Linked DNA regions of Homo sapiens: regions 1, 2 and 3 are each linked to region 4. Evidence: promoter capture Hi-C in human tissues and cell types (Jung and others, 2019). All regions are on one chromosome and are shown on one strand. Each heading gives the region's core, a stretch centred on a gene start or on the middle of the fragment in contact. The rest is flanking DNA. Distances are from core to core; before and after follow the strand shown. Region 1 has its middle 7.9 kb from the start of NACA2. Region 2 overlaps BCAS3 (BCAS3 microtubule associated cell migration factor). Region 3 overlaps BCAS3 (BCAS3 microtubule associated cell migration factor). Region 4 holds the start of TBX2 (T-box transcription factor 2).

Region 1 (2,700 bases), core at 135-2,634, 200 kb after region 4:
CTTTAATTTGTATGCCTCAGGGGTTCACAGGACTGTAAATGGAAATGAAGGGCTGGCCCTGGTCTCAAAATGACAGCTTGCTTGCTTACAGGCAGGATATGGTAGTTCAAAATTAGCCACAATTATCAGAGTCATGCGTTCTACCTCCTGCTTATTTAGCAACCTGAGTCCCTCAGTCTAAACCTGAAAGGTTATTCTAACTGCATCTGATCAAATATATTAGCTGAATTAGATTTAATCCATTGCCCAACACCAGCTCCTTCCATAGCATTAGACAAATGGTCTAAGTGTCTTTTCTTCCCTACCTGGATAATTAGAGATTATTCTCTTGGGTTCTGTGATGAAATACTAAACTCCTGCTTTTGTTGCCTCTACCCAAGGGCTTAGGGCTTTTTCCTGTGCTCGTGGCTGGGGAAAGTAGCCCTTTCTTTCTCTTGTACTTCCCTTGTGTCTACAGCAACACACCCTTAAATACTTATCTTGTTTGAATGGGAAAAAAATCCTGTACTACTTGTTGAGATTTATACGTAAAAAATAATATAAGGCCACAGTTACAGGTAGGTAAAGTGGCTCCATAATCTAGCTTTTTGTAGTACAGAGAATAAACACAGAGATACCCTGAAACAAGATCTTGTTTCAGGGTATCTCTATTCGGCCACCTGGCTTACTTCTCCAATCAGTCTAATCTAGATAGTTTTCTGATCAGTTTTGAGAAGGAGATAATATTAGTCTAACCCCTTTTACAGATGAGAAAGAATTTATGAGTTAGGCTTTTGTGTCTGACTTATGCTCTTCCCTCTATAGTTATATATTAAAATCCTATTAAAATAATTTAAAGTGAGTTAATATATGTAAAGCATTCAGAGCAGTACCTGTACCTGGTACATGATACTATATAAACATTTGCTCTTATTTTGAGTTTGTTTGTTTGTTTTAAGAAACTGGGTCTCCCTGTGTTGCCCAGGCTGGTCTTGAACTCCTGGCTTCAAGCAATCCTCCTGCCTTGGCCTCCCATTCTAACTCCTTTGTGAAGTCTTCCCTGTTCTCATCTGGCCACTCCTCTCTCTGTATAATCAGGTGCTTTTTGGACTTGTTTTCCATCAACTTACACTGTATTTAATTGCTTCTATTGCTGTCTCCCTCACTAGACAGTAAGCTATTTGAAGGCAAGAACCATGACTGTTCTTTGTATTGTCTTCCTCTTCAGTGCCAATCATATTACTTTCAGGCATTACATCCTTTAAAAAGTGTTCATTGGTTTAGTTGCACTGATGATCTTCAAAACCGGTGGGAAGTTATTCACCAGTGTAGGCTTTGCTCTTAGACCTGCCTACAAATACTAAGAGACGTTAAATTAGTTTCTCTATGGTGTAAATTGGGGTTGTGATAAAATTAAGCAAGTGGCACGGTCAAATGGCAGGGACCAGAAAAAGGGTAATTGCAAAACAGTAATCAAAAATTGCACAAACAATGGGATTAATTTAGATTGGAACTCACTAAAGCAGCAGGCAGACTGAGCCTCAAAATTAGGGACAAGGATCTATACTAGGTAAGGGAATAGGGCAAGCTGAAGCATGGTTCAGACCCCATCCACAGATAGCTGCAATCTTAAGAAGGTATCTGAAATGGCTTCTAAGTGTTGCATTGACAGGTGACTGTGGGATCGGAGATCAAAAGATCACAGTCTCTTAACTAGGACGGATAAGTCTTTCCACATTCGTTTTGTCCCCAACATGTTTGTTAAAAGATCTCAGCTTATTAGAGTAGTTCCCATTTATCCAGGCTCATCTTCACAAATGTACCTTCCAGAGCTGTGTCCAGATAATAGTGCTATGTCTTCAAAGAGGATCACAGATTTAATCATCACTTAATTAGAGAACCAATTCCAATTTTCTAAATACTACAGGATTTTCCACGTTGAATTTGTTCTCTGGAACTCCTAATGGCTGGGCTTTTGACCAGAGTACGAATAGCATTCACCCTTAATGCTCACGAAGTGGAACATTAGATGCCCAGCTCTCTAGATGTTGTTTGGTTGCAGATGGCAGGTCCTTAAGTCTAAAAGTTATCCCTCTCAATGGTGTACCCCTATGCAATAGCACATGCTTCTGACCTCAAATTCCACAGTACTGCTTACTTGGATCAGAGAAGGAAGAAAAGGAAGGGAGAGAGGGAGGACATTGTGTAGGAAGGAAAGTTTAATAATGAGTTTGGTGGGGCAGACAACAGAAAATGCTGTCTAGACTTAGAGGTCGCTGAGAGGCTGAATTTAATAGTTTTGATAATAGGAGAACTAAAGAAGATGTCTTTCAGTCTTTAAGAGAGTTAAAGAGGGCTCTAAGTGCAGAAGGTTAGAAGTACTTGGCTGCCAACCCGTTAGTATGCACTTGGGACTATACTTTATCTTGTCCCAAAATTGATTTTTCATTTGTTGAAGGGTGTGCCCCCCAACAATTGAATTGTTTTCAGCTAGAAAGTCTGCAAAGAGCTCAGGTCCTTGAGTAAAGATGTTTTTTATGTTTCTATCATTTGGACTCTTAACTGTTAAAGAGGGTTAACCAGATATTTGTGTTTGTAAAGTCCAAGAACTCTATTGTCTGAGAAAGGGAGTCATCCTAGACTTCCCCCTCTGTGGTGGGCATCTGATGTTTCTTTGGCTATCTGAAATTCAATCTTCCTCCCTAACATCACCCTAACATT
Region 2 (2,700 bases), core at 189-2,688, 230 kb before region 4:
AGATGGGAAATAAATGAAGTGAGCCCTGCAATTGTCAGAGCTCGTCGCTGGTACATATTGAAGGAAGGGGAAATCCAGGTGGAGTGCAGCAGTCTTCATGAGTGGAGGAGATAGAGGTGGGAGGTTGAGGAGGCCAAGGTGGCTAGAACTCACAGGGCAGAGTCCCCGAGAGGAAAGAGCTGTACACGGAGAGAGAACATTCTAGAGATCTACAGAGGACATCCTGCAAGCCTTCAGCTGAGCACATGGGAAACTACCCAAGGCCCAGGAAAGAGCCACTTAAAAAGATCAGAGGGAACATTCGCTGGAGCTTATGCAGGGCTGGGAGTGATTTCTGTTCCCATTAGCCAGATTGGAAAATCTCATAATTTGCAGGTAAAGTGATACAAGATTTTTGTGTCAAAAGTGGGGCAAAATTTCCTCTAAATTCCTGTAGCCTTCCTTGCTTAAAAAAAAGCAAGACCCACGGCACCTCCTAATTAAGTCGCTTATAATCAGTGATAAAGAGAAAAATGTTGTAAGGTTCTTACACTGTACATGAAGTGATATAATACATCCTAAATGTGTAGACTTGGATAAGTTACAAATATATGCTATACATTCTAAAGCAGCCTCTAAAGTAACATAGGTGTAGCTAATCAGTTAACAAATGAGATAAAAATGGCATCCTAAAAATATTCAGTAGATCCAAAACAACACATGGGAACCAAAAAGAAAAAAATGGAACAAAGAATAAATGTATGAACTAATAGAAAACATTTAGCAAGATGGTAGATTTAAACTTGGCCATATCAAAAGTCATATTGAATGTAAATGGTCTAAACACTCAATTAAAAGACAGGAAATGTAAGATTGGATAAAAAAGGCAAGAATCACCTACATCTTGCCCATAAAAATCTCACCTAAATATAAAGACATGAATAGGACAAAAGTAAAAGGATAGAAATAATGATATATTATGCTAATACTAATTTTATTTTATTTTTTTTTTGAAACAGCGTCTGTTGCCAAGGCTGATATGCAGTGACATGATTACAGCTCACTGCAGCCTCAAACTCCTGGGCTCAAGTCATCCTCCTGCTTCAGCCTCCTGAGTAGCTGGGATTTCAGGCATGTGCCACCATGCCCTGCTAATTAAAAAAAAATTTTTTTTTTTTTTTGTAGAAATGGAGTCTCACTGTGTTGTTCGGGCTGTTCTTGAACTTCTGGAATTAAGTGATTCTCTCACCTTGGCCTTCCAAAGTGTTACGATTACCAGTGTGAGCCACCATACCCAGCAAACAGGAAGCTTTAAAAAGCAGGAATGGCTATATTAATAGACAAAGTAGACTTCAGAACAAAGAATATTATCACAGAATAAGGAAACATTTCATAATTACAAAGGGGTCAGTTCGTGAAGAGAACATATCAGTTCTGAATGTTTGCCTCATTACAGAGCTTCAAAACACATGAAACAAAACTGATAGAACTACATGTAGAATTGGGTGAACACACAATTATAGTTGGAGATTCAACATCTCTTTCTCAGTCCTCAATAGAATAGACAAAGAATCAGCAAGAAGGAGATAGAATATTTAGAATAACACTAATCACCAACTTAATCTAGTTGACATTTACTGAAAAACAAAAAACACTACCAACGGCAGAACCACCTTCTTTCCAAGTGCACACAAACTATTTACTATAATAATTCATATTCTGGCCGGGCGTGGTGGCTTACGCCTAATCCCAGCACTTTGGGAGGCCGAGGCGGGCGGATCACGAGGTCCAGAGATCGAGACCATCCTGGCTAACACGGTGAAACCCCGTCTCTACTAAAAATACAAAAAAATAATTAGCCGGGCTTAGTGGCTGGCGCCTGTAGTCCTAGCTACTCGGGAGGCTGAGGAGGGAGAAGGGCGTGAACCCAGGAGGCAGAGCTTGCAGTGAGCTGAGATCGCACCACTGCACTCCAGCCTGGGCGACAGAGCGAGACTCCGTCTCAAAAAATAATAATGAAAATAATTCATATTCTGAGTCCTAAAGCAAGCCTCAATAAATCTAAAGGATTGGCTGGGCGCGGTGGCTCATGCCTTTAATCCCAGCACTTTGGGAGGCCAAGGCGGGCGGATCACGAGGTCCGGAGATCGAGACAATCCTGGCTAACACGGTGAAACCCATCTCTACTAAAAATACAAAAAGAAAATTAGCCGGGCGTGGCGGTGGGCACCTGTAGTCCCAGCTACTTGGGAAGCTGAGGCAGGAGCATGGCGTGAACCCGGGAGGCGGAGCTTGCAGTGAGCTGAGATGACGCCACTGCACTCCAGCCTGGGCGACAGAGCAAGATTCCATCTCAAATAAATAAATAAATAAATAGGATTTAAGTCATACAAAGTGTCTTCTGACCACAATGGAATTAAATTAGAAATCAGTAGCCTTAAGGGATTTGGAAAAATCACCAAATATTTGGAACCTAGCACATCTAAATAACTCATGGATTTAAGAAATAAAAAGGAAAATTAGAAATTGTTTTGAGGCTGGGCACGGTGGCTCATGCCTGTTATTCCTAGCACTTTGGGAGGCCAAGGCGGGAGGATCAGTTGAAGCCAGGAGTTGACACCAGCCTGGCCAACACTGAAATCCCATCTCTACTAAAAATAGAAAAAATTAGCCAGGCATGGTGGTGCACACCTGTAGTCCCAGCTGCTTGGGAGGCTGAGG
Region 3 (2,700 bases), core at 7-2,506, 240 kb before region 4:
GGCTGGGACCACAGTGTGCACCACCACACCTGACTAATTTTTTTACTTTTTATTTTTTTCTATAGATGAGATCTCTCTACATTGCCCAGGCTGGTCTCAAACTCCTGAGCTTAAGCGACCCTCCCCACATGGGTCTCCTGAAGTACTGGGATTACAGGCATGAGCCACCGCGCCCAGCCTCAGAGGGATTTTGTTCTTGAGAACTAAAACGTGACTTCTGTTAATCATCAGAATATTTATTTAATGTGTTTAATGTAAAAAAGGAATTACATTTATTGTAAATGAAGGCACTAAATATATTTTTACTCTTAAATTACAATGTTGAAGTATCCTTTTGATCAAATGCAACTGGTTTTTTTTTTTTGGTGGGGGGTGTTTGGCTTGCAAAAGATAAATCATTTCAGAAATGTTTTTCTATTTGCATTTTTTCTTGAAATTTTCTTTTGAGTATGGAAAAGTGATCAACAAACAATACAGAGAATTTTTAATGAGACATGTCAGGCATCGTGGAAGGCTCTTGCCTGGGTCACTTATGTGATGACCTCAACAAACCCATTTTATTATACAATGAAAAAAGTGTACGAAGCTTACATATGATTTTTTTTTAAGTTTCTTCCTGCCAGAGCATGGATTAAAGAAACTTTAGTAAAGAGTAAAAAATTTTAAAACACACAGTTTGATATGAATTTTGGTAAAAGTTATCAGAGACAAATACTAGTGGGCCAACGAAAACACTGTATTTATAGGAAAATTTGAATTGGGGCAATAAATATGTCCTGAGGCTTTGGTGGCATCAAAGTATTGGTGCTTTATTTTTTGTGATTTATTGTTTTATCAACAGAAGTGAGCACTTGTGTTCAGAAAAGGATAATTCACACTTAAATCTTGTTTTTATTTAATCAAGCTTAAATAACAGGTTAGAGTGGTAGCAAAAAAAAAAAAAAAAAGTCTAATATTTAGTTTGAATCTTAAATTGGTCACCCAGAGCTGCTCTCTCTAGGAGCGAACCTCTCTATTTGTCAATAAACAAGAGAGAGATACAGGCTCCCAGATAACAGGCATTTGGTAAACTGGCGACAGTCATACAAGCGAGAATGTTAAAATGACTTCAGCTCTTTCTAGCTTCATTATGTCAGCCTGGCAGATCACATATGGCATTATGGAAATCAGCAAATGAAAACCATATTGATCAGCATTGAGAACAAATGTAAAAAAGGTGGTCTCAGGGAGGAGCAGAGAAGAAGAATGCTTTCCTGTTCAACCTGATAGGCCCTTGTTAAGGCCTTTTAATCATTTATTAACATAACCCTCCTTCTTCCCTCTCCACTCAGATTACCTCAGCCACAGAGCATCCTGCTCCATTTATCTTTTAATGCTTCCTTTATTTAATTTATTTTTAAGCTCTAAGTTATACTCTTATTTCAGAATTGAGTTTTACTTTTCATGGTATTGTTTAAAGTGACTTAAATGACTTTTCCCAACAAGCTCACCAGGCATTCAAAGGAAGAAAAGCATTTGCTGAGATTCACCTATCAGCAAATAATTTACTCGGTATGCACCACAAACAAACGCAGAGAGACAGAGAAAGACAGTCAGCCAGACACATTAAAAAAAAAAAAAAGAAAAGTAAAATCTGAGTTGTTACTAAGCCTAATTCTCTGGTTAAAGTTTGGGTCAATGTATTCATTTTGGTCTTCTTTTCAGGGATTGGAATTGAGCCTGGTAAAATTCCTTAGGTCTAAAACTGGAATCTCAGGCACCTTCTCTTTCCCTCTTCATTTTCTGAGTTCGGGAGAAAGGTGGACTTTTGTTTTATCTTGTTTCTTTTGGGGGAAACTTAGAGTAATATTTGGTCTGCCAAAATGAGATAGAGAAATGGAAATACGTGCTTTGTGGAGGATCCTGTTTTCCTTGAGTGTCCTTACCTGAAATGGTCTCTTTGGTTTTGTAGGTTCAGACTGAGGTTGGAACGGGCTTGCTTCTCTCTCTCACCTTCTCCCTACCCAACCCCTGCCTCCCCTTTTATTTTTATGTCGAGTTTCATCATTTGGTAAGAAATTTCAGAGGGATTTTTAAATATGAAACTGTGTCTTTTTGTAGTTGATGAGTAACCTGTGGATGTGAATCCTTGGAATCCTAATTGGCACATAACAATAATTGTTTCTATCCTGCTATAAACCATAAGTAACTCCTAAAAAAATTCACATGCACACAAAAAATCTGCAGTGTGGATATAAGTTAATGCCCTGAAGCTGGTACATACAGACCACCTCAACGATGGACTCCTTTATGAATGATTTAGGTAATTGACACAATTTAATATTTGCAATTATTTTTCCTTTGAAACAACACTTAAAAAAAACAAATTCTACAACATTTAAACAGTTGAGGCATCACTCTCCTATAAATTTAGTATTAAATTTCAAAATACGTATTTGTTTTAAAAAGCAAATGTGGTTAATCTCGAAATCATTGAACTTTCTCTTTGCTCTGGACTCCTTGTCTGAGGCTGTTTGGGATGGATTAATTTTAACTTTTCTTTCCTGTTTCTTTGCTTTCCCAGTGCATCTGGGGGAAATAACTCTGATTGATTTGGATATCAAAAGATGTACAATGTGAAGATCTAATTTATCAAAACAGAATTCAATAATTTTATTCATTTTGGCTCTCCCTTGAGACTCCAAAGATATATTCAGTAAT
Region 4 (2,700 bases), core at 147-2,646:
GGATGTACGCGCCCACCACGCGGTTGTACGGGTGGGAATGTCACCCGTGGCTAGTGCATGCTCTGTCTTTTCCTTCAGAAAACGACCTTCAGGAATCAGCCTGAGTGTTCGCGCCCGAGCCCGATTGGAAGCAGGTGCGTGGTCGCTTCACTCTCCCCGTGCACACCTTGAGTTATAGCTCTCGCTGCGCACAGAGGGCACCACACGGGGCCCGACACACACACACACACACACACACACACACACACACACACACACACCATCACTTCATGGGGGGGAAACTGAGGCTGCCGGAAGACAGAAAACGAAGACTGATCACAGAAGAGGGGGCTTCAATCACAGGTGCTCGCAGACACCCCAACTCCCTCACGCGTTACTCAGCACTCCTTAACTTAGGAGACGTGCGCTTCCGAGAGATGAGAAGAAACTAAAAAAGTGGTTGGCAGGGCGAAGAGAGGAAGCCGGTATTTCGGAAGAAGGAGACTTTCGTCTCCGGTACCGGATAGGGCGAAAATTCGTTGGGTCGCGGGTGGAGAATCCGGGGTCCGCCCGCGCGGTGCCGCCCTGTGCTCAGCGAAAGGTGCGCTCACCTTCCTGGCCCCGAGGATCCGCTCCTCCCGGCCGCTGGAAAGCTCAGGGCGGGGCCCGGGCCTGCGGAGAACTCCAGGTTCCTTCCGAGTCTTCCGGTGAAGGCGGGCGCGGGTAGGGGGTCCCCGCGTTTCCCCAGCGCAAGGCCGCGTCCCGCTCCCGCCCGCGCCGGCCCCAGCAGGGCTCGGCCATGGCTCCACTCACCAGCTCCCGCCACCTGGGATCCGCTCCCGGACCTCGGCCGCCCGAGCCTCCCGACTCGCCCGCCCACCGGCCTCGCTTTCCAGTGCCTGCTGTCTCTTTCCGGGGCGCAGGGACCCCCAGGCGGCGCCACGACCCGGAGCTGGGTCGGAGGCCAGGCTGGGGCTCGGGCCAGAGCGGCCGGGCCTCTGGGCGCGGGAGAAGGAGGGCGCCCCCTCTCCGCTCGGGGTCGTGTCAATGCTTTGCACTTGGGGCCGGCGTGCGGCTGCGGGTCCTTCCCCAAGGCCCCGGGACCCGGGCTCCCCTCGCCTCAGGCCCTTTCGGCGGGTCAGGTCGGCCCTCCGCGCTCTCCAGTCCGGCGCAGGCAGCCGCAGGCGCGGGCGGGCGGTGGGGGCCGGGGCAGGAGGAGGGGTCTCGGGGCCCGGCGGCCCGTCATTGGTTAATATTTTATTCTGTTGACATGTTTTCTTACTGCTGAGGCTTCCGACACCTTCTCCCAGGCCCCCCCTCCCGGCCGGAGCTTGGCCTGAGCTGTCAAAACCCCGCCCCCGGAGACCCACAATTGGTCCAAAAAGCGTAAAATCAGCAATCAAGGGGGGCCTGGCTCGTTAGCGCAGGGGATCCGAGCTGGGCAGGACATGTGAGATAGTCACAGTTTTCCAGAGATCACGACAAGATCTAACCAGTCGCGCGTGGTCCCCGGCGCCGGAGCGGGCCAGCTCAGCCCGGCCCAGCCCGGCCCCGCGCAGAGCCCCCGCCGCCCCCGCGCACAGAGCCGGGTGCCCCTTGCGGTGCGCCGGACGGGAAGCCCCGAGGAGCAGCTGCTGCGCCCGCCACCCGGGTCGTCCGTCCACCGCGCGCGCCGCCGCCCGGGCCGGGGGTCCGAGCCGCGCGCCCCCGGCCCCGGCCCCGGCCCCCGGGCGCCTGGGCCGGATGTCCCGATGAGAGAGCCGGCGCTGGCGGCCAGCGCCATGGCTTACCACCCGTTCCACGCGCCACGGCCCGCCGACTTCCCCATGTCCGCCTTTCTGGCGGCGGCGCAGCCCTCCTTCTTCCCGGCACTCGCGCTGCCGCCCGGCGCGCTGGCCAAGCCGCTGCCCGACCCGGGCCTGGCGGGGGCGGCGGCCGCGGCGGCGGCGGCGGCAGCAGCGGCCGAGGCGGGGCTGCACGTCTCGGCACTGGGCCCGCACCCGCCCGCCGCGCATCTGCGCTCCCTCAAGAGCCTGGAGCCCGAGGACGAGGTGGAGGACGACCCCAAGGTGACGCTGGAGGCCAAGGAGCTGTGGGACCAGTTCCACAAGCTAGGCACGGAGATGGTCATCACCAAGTCCGGGAGGTAGGGCTGCCGGCCGGCTGGAAGGCGCGCGGGCGGGCGGGCGGGCTGGGGCACGGGACTGCACGGATCAGAGCAGAGCTGGGGACTCCCGGCTCCCGGCTCCCGGCTCCAGGTTCTGGCCCTGACGCCACGCTTCGCTCCCACGGACAACCAAGTTGACTTTTCTCGTTTGGCACCGGAGCGATTTTTTTTTAAAACAAAAACGCTAAAATCCTCCGAATGAAATAAAACGAAAACATACTGCTAAAGAATAGCCCCAACCGTTCTGAGTCCCAGCGCAGAGGAGGCCCCGCGGCTTGGCCCTGGCGGTCTCCTCCGCCCCGCGCTCTCGCTCTTCTGCGTCCGGGTCCGTCTCCGAGCTCGGGGGAAATTCAGCCTCTCTCAGACTCTGCTCCGACCCCGAAGCCCCTAGTGGGACCTGGGCCCAGCTAACCCCACGCTGGTTGCTCGGTTCCTGGCAGCGAGCCCCGGGTCAGCCGAGCCCTCCGCCTCACCGGGCTGGGAGCCCTTTCTCCACCGCGGGCATCCGAGCCCTGGACGCATCCGCCGCCCCAGGCCTTAAAGCCTGAAGAAAG

The links. Contacts are between HindIII fragments. The study calls those that stand out against the background at their distance.
Region 1: a fragment that was not itself captured here is called in contact with the fragment with the promoter of TBX2 in region 4 in 2 of the 25 tissues and cell types used here (mesendoderm cells and thymus).
Region 2: a contact is called between a fragment that was not itself captured here and the fragment with the promoter of TBX2 in region 4, in 2 of the 25 tissues and cell types used here (IMR-90 fibroblasts and mesendoderm cells).
Region 3: a fragment that was not itself captured here is called in contact with the fragment with the promoter of TBX2 in region 4 in 1 of the 25 tissues and cell types used here (adrenal gland).

Annotation. Positions count from the first base shown.
Region 1 is chr17:61,597,774-61,600,473 of GRCh38, forward strand. No RefSeq gene overlaps it. Among named protein-coding and RNA genes, the nearest start is that of NACA2, 7.9 kb to the left of the region's middle. The HindIII fragment of the contact is 4,338 bases long and covers 1-2,700 here.
Region 2 is chr17:61,170,654-61,173,353 of GRCh38, forward strand. The region is part of intron 22 of BCAS3 (BCAS3 microtubule associated cell migration factor); the gene reads left to right. Among named protein-coding and RNA genes, the nearest start is that of BCAS3-AS1, 36 kb to the left of the region's middle. The HindIII fragment of the contact is 7,372 bases long and covers 1-2,700 here.
Region 3 is chr17:61,154,565-61,157,264 of GRCh38, forward strand. The region is part of intron 22 of BCAS3 (BCAS3 microtubule associated cell migration factor); the gene reads left to right. Among named protein-coding and RNA genes, the nearest start is that of BCAS3-AS1, 20 kb to the left of the region's middle. The HindIII fragment of the contact is 4,324 bases long and covers 1-2,700 here.
Region 4 is chr17:61,398,447-61,401,146 of GRCh38, forward strand. TBX2 (T-box transcription factor 2) reads left to right here and starts at 1,397. Exons shown (of 7, transcript NM_005994.4): 1 at 1,397-2,125. The coding sequence starts at 1,731. It overlaps TBX2-AS1 (TBX2 antisense RNA 1), which reads right to left and starts at 1,160. Exons shown (of 2, transcript NR_125751.1): 1 at 793-1,160. RefSeq lists promoters at 354-1,614, 1,234-1,481 and a cis regulatory region at 1,470-1,481. The HindIII fragment of the contact is 8,441 bases long and covers 1-2,700 here.